Regions from separate parts of the Homo sapiens genome. Here regions 2 and 3 are each linked to region 1. Evidence: promoter capture Hi-C in 16 types of primary human blood cells and fetal thymus (Javierre and others, 2016). All regions are on one chromosome and are shown on one strand. The core of a region is centred on a gene start or on the middle of the fragment in contact, and the rest is flanking DNA. Distances in the headings are between cores, read along the strand shown.

Region 1 (4,906 bases), core at 2,407-4,906:
TGTGAGATTACAATGTCAATCACACAAGCCACTGGAAAAAAAAACTGGAATTAGCTATCAAGAACGTTAAAGAAATGCACATGCCTTTAACATACATTTATTCTAAGACTCTAAAGAAAAGTAAACCTGTAATGTGAACTAAGTGGAGTATCATGAAATCATAAAACAATTCTTGAAAAGTACAATGAGGAGAAATGGCTTTAAGTGAAAAAAGCTTACAGCACTGTACAATTTTTACATGAAGTCAATTATCTAAACGAAAATAAAACCAAACTCGGCTCAGAAATAAAGGAAATTCTAAAACATTAACAAAAGTCATTTTATCCACTATACCGGAAAAAGTGTGAGGAAAATGAACACACTTTTTCACTACAATAAACATTGAACTTGCCAAGTGAAGTCTACAAAACTGAGGTACCCAAAAAATGTTATTTTGTACTGTCAATTTTGAGAAAACCACAACACAAAAAGGTAACTTACATCTTTCATGGAATGTGTTCTTTCTAAAGTGTTCTTTGAACGTCTTGCGCTATTAAACAGCAAAAAAACACAAGAGTTAGGAAATAGTTAAAATAACTGAGGAAACACCATAGTTATGACCCTTTCCGCGCATTTTTACCAAAAAAAAAAACAAGAACCCATATTCCACAAATTTATTTTTTATAGGTCAAATCCTATCACCAATGTATAAAATAACATACCTCTCCCCCTCAGGGACATGGAAAAGTTGGAATCCTGCTGTTAACTTTTTCCCTGAGGCCTTAATCAATCAGCAGTGATTGACTTTCTCTGCACAGCTGAACAAAGGGGAGGTAGGCTAACGCTAAGCCCCGACACCTGCTCCATCCGGTGCCTGGCTCTCCTACGTCCTTTTCTCATTTAATTCTAACAGTCCTATAAGGTAGAAGTGAATCCCATGTTACAGATGTGTGCTTGCCCACAGCAACACGGAGCCAGGAGGGAGACAAGCCTGCATTAAAATTTACATCAGTTCAAATCCAGGGCCTGCCCTCGACCTCCCTTGACACTCTCTCAGTTGGACCACAGCTTCAAATGATAAAGTTGTATATATATCTTCAACAAGCTTCAAGAAAACAAATGTAACAATGGTGACAAGAATAAAAACGGGAAATAACAGTGGCAGGATTATATATCATTATTACTAATAATAGTGCCAGCAGTCAGTGAATATGTACAGACTATCCTCCACCAACCAGGCATCGTACAAGGGTACGGGGGGGATACTCCAGGAGAATACAGTACATAATTAGACTTTAAAATATGCCATGCAGATTGCAGCCATATTTTTCTCATTTGTAGACAGCAAAATCAGCTTAGTCTAAACCAATGTTTTAGTATCCTTTTATCTGATATAATTTCAAGCTCACAGAAAAGTTGCAAACATAGCACAAGGACCTTCTGTATGCCCTTTACTCATGTGCTCTGTGTGTGTGTGTGTGTGTGTGTGTGTCTGGAGATACTGTGCACTTCCACCCCTAAATACTACAATATGTCTTTCCTAAGAGGGCATTATACTGCATATTCATGGTACAATTTCTAAAATCAAGAAATTTAACACTGATACCATAATCTAATCTACAGTCCATACCCAAATCACATCAATTGTCCTATAATGTCTTTTAAGATTGCCAGGCCAGCATTTTTAAAAAAACAAACAATAAAAAAGGAAAATATAAAATGAAGCATTGCACTGGATATACTATGTTCACAAGCCTTTTGTTTTATGTGTGGATGTGTGCACACGTGTACTAAGTGTGATGTAAAACATCATTACTGTGAATCACAGTTAAAAAAAAAAAGTTAGAAAACTGTTCAGAGCGGTGGTTCCCAGACTTGAGTGTCATCAAAATTCTCAAGAGGGCTTGTTGAACAGGTTGCTTGGCACCACCCCAGGAGTGTCTGATTCAGTCCCTCTGGGGTGAGGTCTGGGATTCTGCATTTCTAACAAGTTCACGATTTATTTATTTAATTCATGAAACCTAAGGAAGCAGGTAAGACAAGTATTGGTTTTATGGCAATTTTATAGATGATGATTCCGGGATTCAGAAAATTTAAGTGACTTATCAAGGGTCACATAGCCAGGTAACAGAAACCCAGCTACACACTAGACCACATAAACTTCTTAACCTAAACTCTTTGAGCTGTCTTGTCCTTTCTTGGGGGGGAAAAAAAGTCAAGGTTCCTCCTTGCCTTACGCTGGAGTCAAGGTGGGGCTTCTGAGAGACAGAAACCTCTGTGACAACCCACAGGTAAAATTTCTGGGCCAGGCGCGGTGGCTCATGCCTGTAATCTCAGCGCTTTGGGAACCCCAGGAGGGCGGATCACGAGGTGAGGAAATCAAGACCATCCTGGCCAACATGGTGAAACCCCGTCTTTACTAAAAATACAAAAATTAGCTGGACGTGGGGGCGAGCGCCTGTAATCCCAGCTCCTCTGGAGTCTGAGGCAGGAAAATCGCTTGAACCTGGGAGGCGGAGATTGCGCCACTGCACTCCAGCCTGGGCCACAGAGTGAGACTCCGTCTCAAAAAAAAAAAAAAAAAAAAATTCTGTTGTATGTGCGTAAGTGTGTTTTGGGAGGAGGCATGAACAGATTTCATGAGTCTCAAACCCAAAAATGTTAAAAGATAAAAATAAAAAAAGACAACAAAAACCACTAGCCTTTCAGATAAACTCTTTTCAGCTGACATTGAAGGCTGACATTCTCTTCTAATCCTTTTTTGCACTGGGGGAGTCTTCATTCTCCTCCACTGGCCACAGAAGTCTGGTCTCGGTTTCCCCACCCACCTGCGGTGTCCTGCTCCAGCTTTTCCACCCTAACCCCGCATCTACCAGCACCTCCTCCTCCAGGCAGCCTTCCCAGGCCCGGGGGAACTCCTGTTCTCTTCAGATCGTCTTGGCGTATGGCTTTGTGCACCGTCTGCAGCAAGCCGAGACCCTTCCCGCCAGATCCAGGCCGGGCCTTGGATGGCCATTCGCCAACGAATCAGCGACCAGCATTCTAGAGCGCGTTTTGCAACCGACCAAACGCTCGCTTTCTTTGGTAAACAAAAACCGCTCGAGCCATCCTGGAGAACCGCAAGCGGCAGCTCGGTCCCCCAGCCGGATTTATGCTCCAGTTTACGGTCTGTGGTTTGCAGTAAGAAAACACCAGGGTCTTCAAAATAAGAAAACTGATTCCCAGTCAGAGAATAAAACTCCACTAACAAAGTCTGGCAAACCGCAGGCAATACGTATTTGCTGAATATTTTGCTTTCAAGCTAGCACTTTGAGACTCACTACTTTGGACGGCACTCCCCCTCCCCACAAAACGACACGACACTGGCTGACGTCTCTCCCACCCGCCAGGCAGTGTTAGGCCCCGACAGGCCCGTGCAGGTGGGATCACTGTTATCCCCACTAGACTGAGGAGGAAGCCGGGGACCCGGGCGATTGGCCACTCGGGCGACCTCCACAGTGGAGCACCAACAGCGCCGGGAGGCGCAAACCACGGCAGGCGAGGAAGCAGTTCAAGCTGGTCTCCGGCCCCGCGCTCCCGAGGGTCGGCAGTACTTACCCCTCAGACCTGTGAGGCCGCGGCCGCCGCCGCCCCCGCGGGGCCATGGTGCCGCTCTCCGCTCTCGAGCGACTGGAAGCTCCCGCCAAGCCCCTCGCCGCTCCGAACAGCCAATCCGGGCCGAGCACGCGCGCGTGCGCAGGACTTCCTGAGCGGCCCCCGGGCTCCTCCCTGGCCTGGAGCGTGAGGGAAAACTGGGTCTGGTTATTACAGCGCAACGGAGCTGGAGTCCATGCCGCACAACCAGTTACCTACGGTCCAAAACATGCCAAAGTTTTCCGGGCTTTCGCGCCCACCCGCATCGCCAGTTTTCCGGCGCCAGAAAGCCCGGGAGCCACGTGGGACGGCCCCTTGTGGGGTGGGGAAAGGGGAGGAGCTAGTGTCCCTGAGTCGTGGGCAGGTAAGAGGGTGGGTGGAGACCCGTGTTCGCAGCTGTTGTCGCTGAGGCCGCAGTCGTCTTTCCAGGCCTACAGGATTTGGCTTCCAGCCCCTGCTGCCTTTATCAGCTGTCTGAGCTTAGCATGTTACTTTACCGCTATCCCAATACCTTCATTTGTAAATGGACAGGGTTCCTTTTGTTCTTTTATTTTGTTTGTGTTTAAAAATGTGTAATGCAGAAGAATGTAATTGAACCCTTACCTTACACCGCGTATAAAAATTAACGCAAAATGAATCAAAGACCTAACTATAAAGGCTAAAATTAAAACTCTTAGAAGAAAACAGAGCAAAAACTTCATAACATTGGACTTGGTATGATTTCTTGGATATGATACCAAAAGCAGTTTGGGATGATGAAAACGTTCTGGAAATAGTGGTGGATGGATGCACAAGGTGAAGGTACTTAATGCCACAATACTGTAAAGTTAAAAACGGTTAAAATGCTAAATTTTGTTATGTATATTTTACTACGACAAAAATATTACGTTTCATGCATATGAAAGAATATAACGTGTAATGTAAAGATAAAAACAAACATCCGTGTAACCAGCACTACATGGGGATATGGATCATTTTTATATATAACTCTTGGGTACCCCTCTGAATGGTATCCTCCTCCTCCAAAGAATAACCACTCTTCTGATTTTATGTGTATCATTCCTGTGGTTTTCTACCTTGATATAGCCCCAAATAATGTATTGATTATTGTATGTTTCTAAACTTTATATGATATTTGGTAGGTATGCTGCAAGTGCCCTTTCTTACTAAAGCTATTGCTTTTATTTTTTATTTATTTTATTTTTCCATAAATTATTGGGGTGCAGGTGCTATTTGGTTACATGAGTAAGTTCTTTTTTTTTTTTTTTTTTTTTTTTTGAGTTGGAGTTTTGCT
Region 2 (4,906 bases), core at 1,062-3,561, 290 kb before region 1:
ACAGCGGAGGCCTATACTTACTGCGTGTCTGCTGGGTGAGAGTACAAGACTACGTAGGCTTATATATTAACGTGGGCAGCAACGTTAACATGGGATTCCAGCTCCAGGGGCCTCCCCGGCCCCATTCTCCTTCCCACACAGTGGCCTGGCCACTTTCCCACTACAAACGGGCCTTCATGCCTCCGTCTTGTTTGCTCACACTGCAAACATTTGTGAGAGGCTGGAGAACCTCGCAGCAGATGGGCGGCTGATCGCCTCATCTGAGCTCTCAGAGTCTCTGCCTCTGCAGATCTTTTTTGCTTTCTTCTCCCCAGGTCCTGTTCCCATTTTCCACAGGTGCAATTTCAGATCCCTCCCTGCCTCCAGCTTCACAGAGAAAAGAGATCTGCGAGGCTCTTCTTTCTGAATGTCTACCTCGCCTCCCTCTTCATACTCACTTGGGTGTGACCTTTTTCCCTTTCTTAGACTAGATGGGTGGGAGTGCCACTCTGCAACAGAAGATGTGGGATGTTTGAGGAGAGATACTGAGAGTGGTTTGGGGCCTACAGGGTTGGAGATCTCTGGGATACCCAAAAAGAGGTGATGGCTGGGCTACTAGCTGTGCGAGGCTGGAGCTCAGGAGAAAGGCCTAGCCTGGAAACGTCTCGCCATACCTTGAAAGATTGTTCAAATGTCTCTTTTCCACAATACTTGGCCTGGCCAACACAAGACACATACATGCCCCCTTCCCTTGAAGTCATAAAACTCACTGCCTCTAACAGTGAGTTAGCACGCATCTTACACTGTCCTAAAGTCACTGGTTCATTGTGATGTGCTTTAATCCACTGAGACCAACGCTCCTTAGGCCTAAATAGGCCTTGTACTCTGCACCCAGCAAACACCCAATGAATGTAGACCAGCACTATCCAGTAGACATTTTGCAACTATTAACTTGTTATTTATCAGGGCAGTCAACAAGGTGGCTCCTGAATACCTGAAATGTGGCTACCATGAATGAGGAAAGCTTTGTCATCAAAGATGGAAACATCGTTTCCCGGCCGGTTCTAATCTTTCCAAATCACAGTGAGTGGTCAGGTGTCTGGTGGAAAGAAAATACCTGCTCGTGACACCCCTGTAATGTTCCTGCTACTGAAACAGCTTTGTTTTGGGAAAAGCTTAGTTTTAAAAAGCCTGATGCACACTCTGCAAACTTAATCACCTTTGGAACACAACCTGTTGGTAAGCAAGGGAGCTTTTCTGTGAGTAACTGCCTCATCCAGATCTAGACCTGCAAACCCTTGAAAATGATACCAGCTGGCCAGCAGGGAGTGTCCCACTTACCAGGATGTTGTCAATATCCTCCACCATGAGGGTATTAACAATAGCTAAGGAGTATTAAGCGCTTAGCAGTGTTAGGCAAGTTCTAAGCACGTTAAGAGGATAAGCTCACCTGATTCACAGCATCCCAAGAACGTGGGTACTACTGTGGTCCCCATTTTATAGATGAAGAAACTGAGGCACGTAAGGTTAAGTAACTTCCCAAGGTCACAGAGCTACTGAGTGGTAGAACTCATATTTGAACTGGAGTCTTAGGCCCTGACTTAGCATTTGGATATGAGGCTCGCACAGGCAGGCCAAACTGGGGTTCACATCAAGAGGTAGAGAGGGCCCCACACCTCCGTCTGACCTGGCATCTGCACTGGGAGCCTGTGTGGAAGGGGACACAGCCAGGGCAGCAAGATCCCCACAGCCTGCCAAACATCGTTCCAGCTCCTGAGCTGGCCCGGGTGCACAGGAAGCAGTTTCCCAGCCTCCTTTATGCAGCCCCTTCCAAAGTCACACTTCCTGCCCCATTTAATACTTTCCCAGCGAGTGGGCATCAACAAAACATGCTGCGTTTCCTGGCCAACCCGAGCTTTCCTTTTGTAGTCCGGACTAGGAAAACACTCCCATACTCCAAAATAAAGATACTCGCCCTCTCTCCACCCCTTCACCTCCATGCTCTCTTTAAGGAAACAAGAGAGAACCAGAGGGGCTTTTTCCTGGCTTTGCATCACCTGGATGCAGATGAATCAGTTGTTTCATTTTAGTTGCTGCTTCTGCCATAAAGCAGGGCCACCTGGGTGCTTCCAGGGTCTTTTGAAGGCAGAAGGGGAGGAAAGTGTGCCCTGCCCAGCCCATAACCGATTAACCTGAAGAACTATTTCAGAAGCACAAGTAAGTCCCATAGAAGACAAACGCGCCACTATCTTAATGTTAATTTCACATTAACATTTATTTAAGGTGCTGAAAACCAGTGAACTAGTAAGCATCCTCAATATTTGTCAATTTCCACCTCCTGCCGTTTCAGTGCATATGAAGAGCAAACACTTCGTTATGGGGCCGTTTTGCTTCCCACTCTAAAAATGACCTCATTTTTAGTATCAGGACCTCCAAGAAGTACAAAAACCCTGTGCCCCAAAACTCCTTTCTCCAACCTACTTAAATCTCTCAGCCCTGTTTGTTTTTTACCACTTGATACCAAGTACTTCTCTCTTGGTCTTCAGAAGATAACTTTGTGGGGGTGGGGGTGGGGGTGGTGGGGGCAGCGGGGTGGGAGGGGTTGTTTTGTTTTGTTTGAGACAGAGTCTCACTCTTGTCACCCAGGCTGGAGTGCAATGGCACGATCTCTGCTCACTGCACCCTCCGCCTCCCAGGTTCAAGCGATTCTCCTGCCTCAGCCTCCTGTGTAGCTGGGATTACAGGCACGTGCCACCTTGCCCGGTGAATTTTTGCATTTTTAGTAGAGATGGGGTTTCACCATGTTGGCCAGGCTGGTCTCAAACTCCTGACCTCAGCTGATCCACCCACCTCAGCTTCTCAAAGTGCTGGGATTACAGGTTGTTTTTGTTTTTGCTTTCAGTTTTAAATTCAGGGGTACCTGTGCAGGTTTGTTACATGGGTATATTGCAATGATACTGGGGTTTGGGCTCCTAATGATCCTGCTGTCCAAGTAGTGAACATAGTACCCAATAGGTAGTTTTTCAACCCTTGCCCTACTTCCTCTCTCTCCCCTTCTGGAATCCTCACTGTTTCTTGTTCCCATCCTCATGTCCATGTGTACTCAGTGTTTAGCTCCGTCTTATAAGTGAGAACATGTGGTAGTATTTGGTTTTCTGATTCTGTGTTAATTCATTTAAGATAATGACCTCCAGCTCCATGCTTCTTATTGTGAATGATTTCATTGTTTTTATGGCTGCATAGTATTCCATAGTGTATATATACCATATTTTCTTTATCCGGTCCACTGCTGATGAGGACCTAGGTTAAGTCCATATCTTTGCTATTGTGAATAGTGTTGCAATAAACATAAAAGTACAGGTATCTTTTGCTAGAATGATTTCTTTTCCTTTCAGTATATACCCAGTAATGGAATTGCTGGGTTGAATGGCAGTTCTATTTTTAGTTCTTTGAGAAATCCAGGAGACAGTTTTAAATCCACCCATCCCAGAAAGCTTTCCCTAGCCAGTGTAAGCTCATCTATGACCACAACTCCTGCTGAGATGACAGCCCTAGGAAATGGTTTGGGTATTAATGGTGATCAATCATGTCTGACCCTTAGCTTATTAATTTGGCAACATGCAAATTCCTAATAAGTGATTAGGCCCTTCATAGGCCTACCCTTATTCATCATGGAGTAGGATGGCAGCTGCAATGCAGGACTCAGGATGACACCCGAGGTCTGACAGCCACATGACTCCAGGACAGCACAGCCCCCTAAGGGCAGGGCAGAGACCAGGGAAGACCTCGGCGGCTCCCATATCCATGACAAGTGGGCAGGAGCCAGCCTTGGCTAGTGACGCTTTTTTATCACTATACTGTATATGAGATGAGGAGAGGAACCTTATCTCATATACAGTATAGTGATAAAAATGAGACCTTAAATGAGAAATCAACAAGCCATTGCCCCAAAAATTCAGAAATCCCCTGGTGCTGGTCACCATCTCCACAACTGTAGAAGCCATTCAGGTCTCCATCCGGCAACTATAGCCACTTCCCAGGGCACTGCTTCAGGAACCAAACGCAGAAGGTAACAGAACCCAAGACCCTATGCCTCAGTTTTCTCCTCTGTAAAATGGGATAACTTCCGCATGGTTTGCGGTAAGGATTAAATAAGATGTGTAACATGCCTAGCCTAGTACCTGATCCATCAATAGTTGATATTTAACAAATAATAGTTTCTGCAGACACAAATTTATGGTCAACATTGTTCAAAGAGCATTATTTATATAGCAAAACTAACCCAAATACCAGACAGTGGGAAGATGTTTAAAGAAAATGTAATAGAGTCAAATAATAGAGTATTGGGACTACAGCAGATTCCCTCATCTCAACAAAGGGATGATTTATGTCCTGGGCAGGAAGAGGTGGGATGTTACATTCCATCATGCTACTTGCAACAGTGCACAATTTAAAACTTATGAATTGTTTATTTCTGGAATTTCCCATTTAATATTTTCAGACCTCAGTTGACCATGGGTAACTGTAACCACTAAAAGCAAAACCACAGATAAGGGAGAACTACTGTCTAGAATATTTAATTTGTGCAGGAATGCACAGAGCATAATGTGAAAAAAGTCGGGGAGCAGGTGGTTTTAACCATCAGGGCAATCAAGGACCACGCGCAAACTTCCAGGCCCTGCCGTACCATGGTGGCTTCCCCATGAGTCCCCAGCTGAGTCCACGTGCTGACACGCTGCTCTCTTCCCCCACAGCACCAATGACAGTCAGAGTTCCCCGTTCACTCACCCTTACAGAACTCAGAGCATGCGCCGGGCTGACAACATGCACCAAGAGACAGTTGTTTGACCTGGAACTGGGCCTCTGGGGGGCGGGGGTGTGCCCCAACCCCGGGTTGGCACAGAACAGAAGGTGAACGTGTTTCCTG
Region 3 (4,906 bases), core at 959-3,458, 260 kb after region 1:
GAGAGGAAGAAGACGGATGCAGGCCCGAAATGCGGAGCATGACAGATCTGCCAAGGGCATAGCCAAGTGGGGGAGTGTGTCTGGAGGTCAGGAGGAAGCTCTCCAGAGAAAGAATGGGCGAGAGAACTTGGCACAAAGAGCAGGGGGATGACGGCTGAAAACCTGGTTGTGAGCAAAATCATTCAAGCTGAGTAGAAAGAGTAGACAAAGAACCTTGATAGCAAGGCCGGAATCCTGGGGATACAGCTTTAAAAGACGACAGAGGCAAAACCAAAAATTCACAAAAGAGGTTGAGAAGAGGCCAGAAATACCGTAAAGACCAGGGAAGTGGTGTCATGAAAACCAAGAGAGTAAGGAGTTCCAGCAAGGAGGGGCTCACCTGTACCAAGTGCCAAAAGAACTCAGAGGGCCACTGCATTTGACCACAAAGACGTACGGGACACTTCTACTGGTTTGGTGAAAATGGAAACCGAGGATTTCAGCAGGGGTTGTAAGCAGAAGAGAGGTGGACACAGTGAGTGGAGACAGAGAATGGAACCCTTCTTTTTTTTTTTTAAGACAGAGTCCTGCTGTGTTGCCAGGTTGGAGTGCAGTGGCACAATCTCGGCTCACTGCAACCTCCACCTCCCAGGTTCAAGTGATTCTCCTGCCTCAGACTCCTGAGTAGGTGAAACTACAGGCGCGCGCCACCATGCCTGGCTAATTTTTGTATTTTTAGTAGAGACGTGGTTTCACCATGTTGGCCAGTCTGGTCTCGAACTCCTGACCTCGTGATCCACCCATCTCGGCCTCCCAAAGTGCTGGGATTACAGGCGTGTGCCACCACGCCCGGCCTTTTTTTCCTTTTAATATTACTTTTAATTGACACATAATAATTATACATATTTATGGGGTACAGTGTGACAGTTTGATACATGTATATATGTGCAATGATCAAATAGCATAATTAGCAGATCCATCACCTCGAACACTTATCATTGTGTTGGGAACATTCAGAATCCATGGAGCTCATTCTTGCCAGGGGCTTGGCTAAGCAATCAGAGGGAAATAGAGCGCTAGAAAGAAAACCAGAGGCAAGAGAGGGAATTTTATTGTTGTCTGTTTCAGGACGTGAAAACGTTGAGTGTGTTTGTCTGCTAAGGGGAAGGGACCAATGAGGGATAGAGAAGATGACATGGAAAAAGACGCGTGACTAACGGAACCAATTCTTAGGAGCAGAAACTAAATGGGACCCAGAGCACAGGGGCAGGGCAGGAGGCAGTGGGAGGAGAAATTCACCTTAGAGACGGAAGGGGCCCTTATCAGAGCGATGGAAGAAGGTGAGAAGGAATATAACATAGACAGGTGAGTGGGTGGAGCAAGAGAGGAGAGTTCCTGACGGCGGTGATTATTTTCTTTGTGAAGTAAGTCACAAAGGCACCTTGTGAAAAGAGGGTGAGATCATCTGGAGACAGTACGGAGCAGTGTGGAGCGGCCGCTGTGGAGATGAAGAGTGTGTATGTGAACATTGCTAAGAAGTGGGCAGTGCAGGCCGGGCGCAGTGGCTCACACCTATAATCCCAGCACTTTGGGAGGCTGAGGTGGGTGGATCACCTGAGGTTGGGAGTTCGAGACCAGCCTGACCAATATGGTGAAACCCCGTCTCTACTAAAAATACAAAAATTAGCTGGGTGTGGTGACATGTATCTGTAATCCCAGCTACTCGAGAGGTTGTAGCAGGAGAATTGCTTGAACCTGAGAGGCAGAGGCTGCAGTGAGTGGAGATCACACCACAGCACTCTAGCCTGGGCAACAGAGTGAGACTCTGTCTCAAAAAAAAAAAAAAAAAAAAAAGGAGTGGGCAGTGCAGTTGGAGTCAAAGCACTGGGGCTCCCATTCACGCTGAAGTATGGTTCATCAGCATCATTCAGGTTCCTGGTATAAAGAAGGAAGATGTAAATCTGAATTTACTCCATGTTGCTGAGTAAGGTGGCTCACACCTGCAGTCCCAGCTACTTAGGAGGCCAAGGCAGGAGGACTGCTTGAACCCAGGAGTTCAAATCCAGCCTGGGCAACATAGTGAGATCCTATCTCAAAATACATAATAATAAATTAATTTACTCCATGCTTGGTGGTTTGCCAAAGAACAGAGGGCAATGGAGTGGAGGGAGCTGGTAAGAGAGTGTTGGAATTGCTGTTCTGTGGGGTCTGGGCTAGAAAGGACAAAAGTGAACATAGGAAGTGGTTCATCAGACTTGGAGGATGTGGGGGAGATGGGATGTGAAGTGGTGCTTTCTTCACAGCATTTGCCTTGGTTGTAACTAAGCCTTTAGTTAAGTCATCATTGGATCACTGTGCTCTGCCCCAGGTGCAGGTCTTTGTGAGAAGGGACCATGCCTGTGTGGTTCATCGCTGTATCGCAGTCCCTTGCACAGTCCCTCCTACACACCGGGTGCTCATTAATTTTTTGTTGAATATTTAATGAGAGAGCTGGAAGGTCTGGGAGAGACTGGATTATGGCAGAGAGGCATATGGACTCCCACAGGTGGAGTACTTCCAAGGGATGATAGATCCAAGCCATGGAGGGAAAGAGGCGAGATGCAGCAAGGTGACCTCAACAGAGCCATGTCGAGCTGGGGAGAGGAAGCACAGGCAGAAAGGAGAGAGGGAACAGCAGTCAAGGGGCTGGAGACCGTGGGGATGAGAGGCCAAAATTAACTGGCCTCAGGTTGCTAGCTAGAAATTTATCAAAAAAAGTATTAGTTTGGTGCAAAAGCAATTGTGTTTTTTTACATTATTATTATACTTTAAGTTCTAGGATACATATGCAGAAGGTGCAGGTTTGTTACATAGGTACACACGTGCCATGGTGGTTTGCTGCACCCATCAACCAGTCATCTACATTTGGTATTTATCCTAATGCTCTCCCTCCCCCAGCCTCCCACCTCTTGACAGGCCCCAGTGTGTGATGTTCCCCTCCCTGAGTCCATGTGTTCTCATTGTTCAACTCCCACTTATGAGTGAGAACATGCAGTGTTTGGTTTTCTCTTCCTGTGTTAGTTTGCTGAGAATGATGGTTTCTAGCTTCATCCATGTCCCTGCAAAGGACATGAACTCATCCTTTTTTATGGCTGCATAGTATTCCATGGTGTATATGTGCCACATTTTCTTTATCCAGTCTCTCATTGATGGGCATTTGGGTTGGTTCCAAGTTTTTGCTATTGTGAACAGTGCTGCAATAAACATATGTATGCATGTGTCTTTATAGTAGAATGATTTATAATCCCCAATGGCAAAAACCACAATTACTTTTGTACCAACCTAATACTTTAGTGCTGAAATTGAGGTACGCCATGGCTTGCAGGAGGCTGTACTTGCTACTTATATCTGGTTCTGGTAAGTAGAAGCAAGAACTAAGAGAGGTCATCCAGGCCAAAATAATAAGCAGAAAGAAAAATATTCTGCCCGTGGACACATCTCAATGTTAGGCAGAAATTAACTGAAAATCAGTTATGGTGCAACTGCTTCATTTTATCTTTTCAGAATTCCTTTTTCAAAATACTTTCCCTCCTGCATGAGTATTCTGAGTTGGGTCTGCCTTTGCTATTAACATCTGTATAATCAAGTTTATGGTCTAATTGGGCAATCACTGCAAACATTTCTGGGTAAAAAGCCATGCATTCTAGCATTATTTTAATAAGCCTCTGATCCAGTTAGTTCTAGTCATCCAGTGGTTTATTTTGTACTAAAGAACCAGCTTTTAGATTTGGCACTACCTTTTTCCATTTTCTAATTCAGTATTATCTGCTTTTATCTGTGTTTAATGTGTCCCCTCTTTTCTTGGTGTATTTTGTTGCACTCTTTTCTTTTCTTAATTTTTTGAGTTGGATACTAATTCACCTTTTTTCCATTATTCCTTTTTGGACTGATTTAAATACTTAAGACTAAAATCTCCCATGAGCTCTGCCTTATTTTTTACAGGTTTCATAATTGCTGTTTTCTAGAAATTTTACAATTTTTGATATCTATATCTTCTTTATATCAAGAGTATTTGGGCTGGGTGTGGTGGCTCACGCCTGTAATCCCAGCACTTTGGGAGGCCGAGGTGGGTGGATCACTGGAGGTCAGGAGTTCAAGACCAGCCTGGCCAACATGGCAAAACCCCCTCTCTACTAAAACCACAAAAATTAGCCGGGCGTGATGGCACGCCTGTAGTCCCAGCTACTTGGGAGGCTGAGACAGGAGAATCGCTTGAACCTGGGAGGTGGAGGTTGCAGTGAGCCAAGATCCCACCACTTCACTCCAGCCCCAGCATGGGTAACAGAGTGAGACTCCATCTAAAAAAAGAGAGTATTTGATAAAAATGGTTTTAAATTTTTTTAAATTGAAAATTCCAAACATAAACAAAAGTAGAGAAATAGGATATAGGATTTCCATATACCCATTACACAGCTCAATGATTATCAATATATGACAAATTTTGGTTCATCTTACTGCAAATCCCAGATATCTTATCATCTTATTACAAACATTTCAATATGAAAATAAAGATTTTTGAATTTCCTAGTGGAAGGGAGGTTTTTTTCTGGCGTTATTGTTAATGTCTGATGTTATTACGTGATCATCAGAAAATATTTCCTGTACTATTTATACTCTTGGAATATCTGTCATTCACAAATGTAACCTGGACATTTAAAAAGTTCATTTTCTGTTTCCAGGGTACAGTTTATTTAATATATATCAGTTAGATTTACCTTACTTAATGTTACAAACTAGAAGAAGTAGTCTACTAATGTAGTTTCTACCTTCTCCCTTTATCTCTTGTAATTTCTACTTTGTTAACCAAGTTGCTATGTTATTGATGCATAAACACCCATTACAATTATATATTCTTAATAATTACACCTATTTGCATTATAAAGTGCAC

The links. Contacts are between HindIII fragments. The CHiCAGO score rates a contact against its expected background, and 5 or more counts as called.
Region 2: a contact is called between a fragment that was not itself captured here and the fragment with the promoter of CENPU in region 1, in 1 of 17 cell types (total CD8 T cells). The highest score is 6.5, in total CD8 T cells.
Region 3: a contact is called between a fragment that was not itself captured here and the fragment with the promoter of CENPU in region 1, in 1 of 17 cell types (monocytes). The highest score is 7.0, in monocytes.

What each region holds. Positions count from the first base shown.
Region 1 is chr4:184,730,440-184,735,345 of GRCh38, forward strand. It overlaps CENPU (centromere protein U), which reads right to left and starts at 3,657. Exons shown (of 13, transcript NM_024629.4): 1 at 3,577-3,657; 2 at 481-529. The coding sequence starts at 3,623. RefSeq lists enhancers at 3,097-3,963, 3,114-3,233 and a silencer at 3,604-3,663. The HindIII fragment of the contact is 4,927 bases long and covers 1,083-4,906 here.
Region 2 is chr4:184,440,346-184,445,251 of GRCh38, forward strand. The region is part of intron 1 of IRF2 (interferon regulatory factor 2); the gene reads right to left. Among named protein-coding and RNA genes, the nearest start is that of IRF2, 32 kb to the right of the region's middle. RefSeq lists an enhancer at 4,778-4,906. The HindIII fragment of the contact is 2,319 bases long and covers 1,153-3,471 here.
Region 3 is chr4:184,994,744-184,999,649 of GRCh38, forward strand. The region is part of intron 1 of LINC02437 (long intergenic non-protein coding RNA 2437); the gene reads left to right. Among named protein-coding and RNA genes, the nearest start is that of LINC02437, 7.8 kb to the left of the region's middle. The HindIII fragment of the contact is 7,688 bases long and covers 1-4,906 here.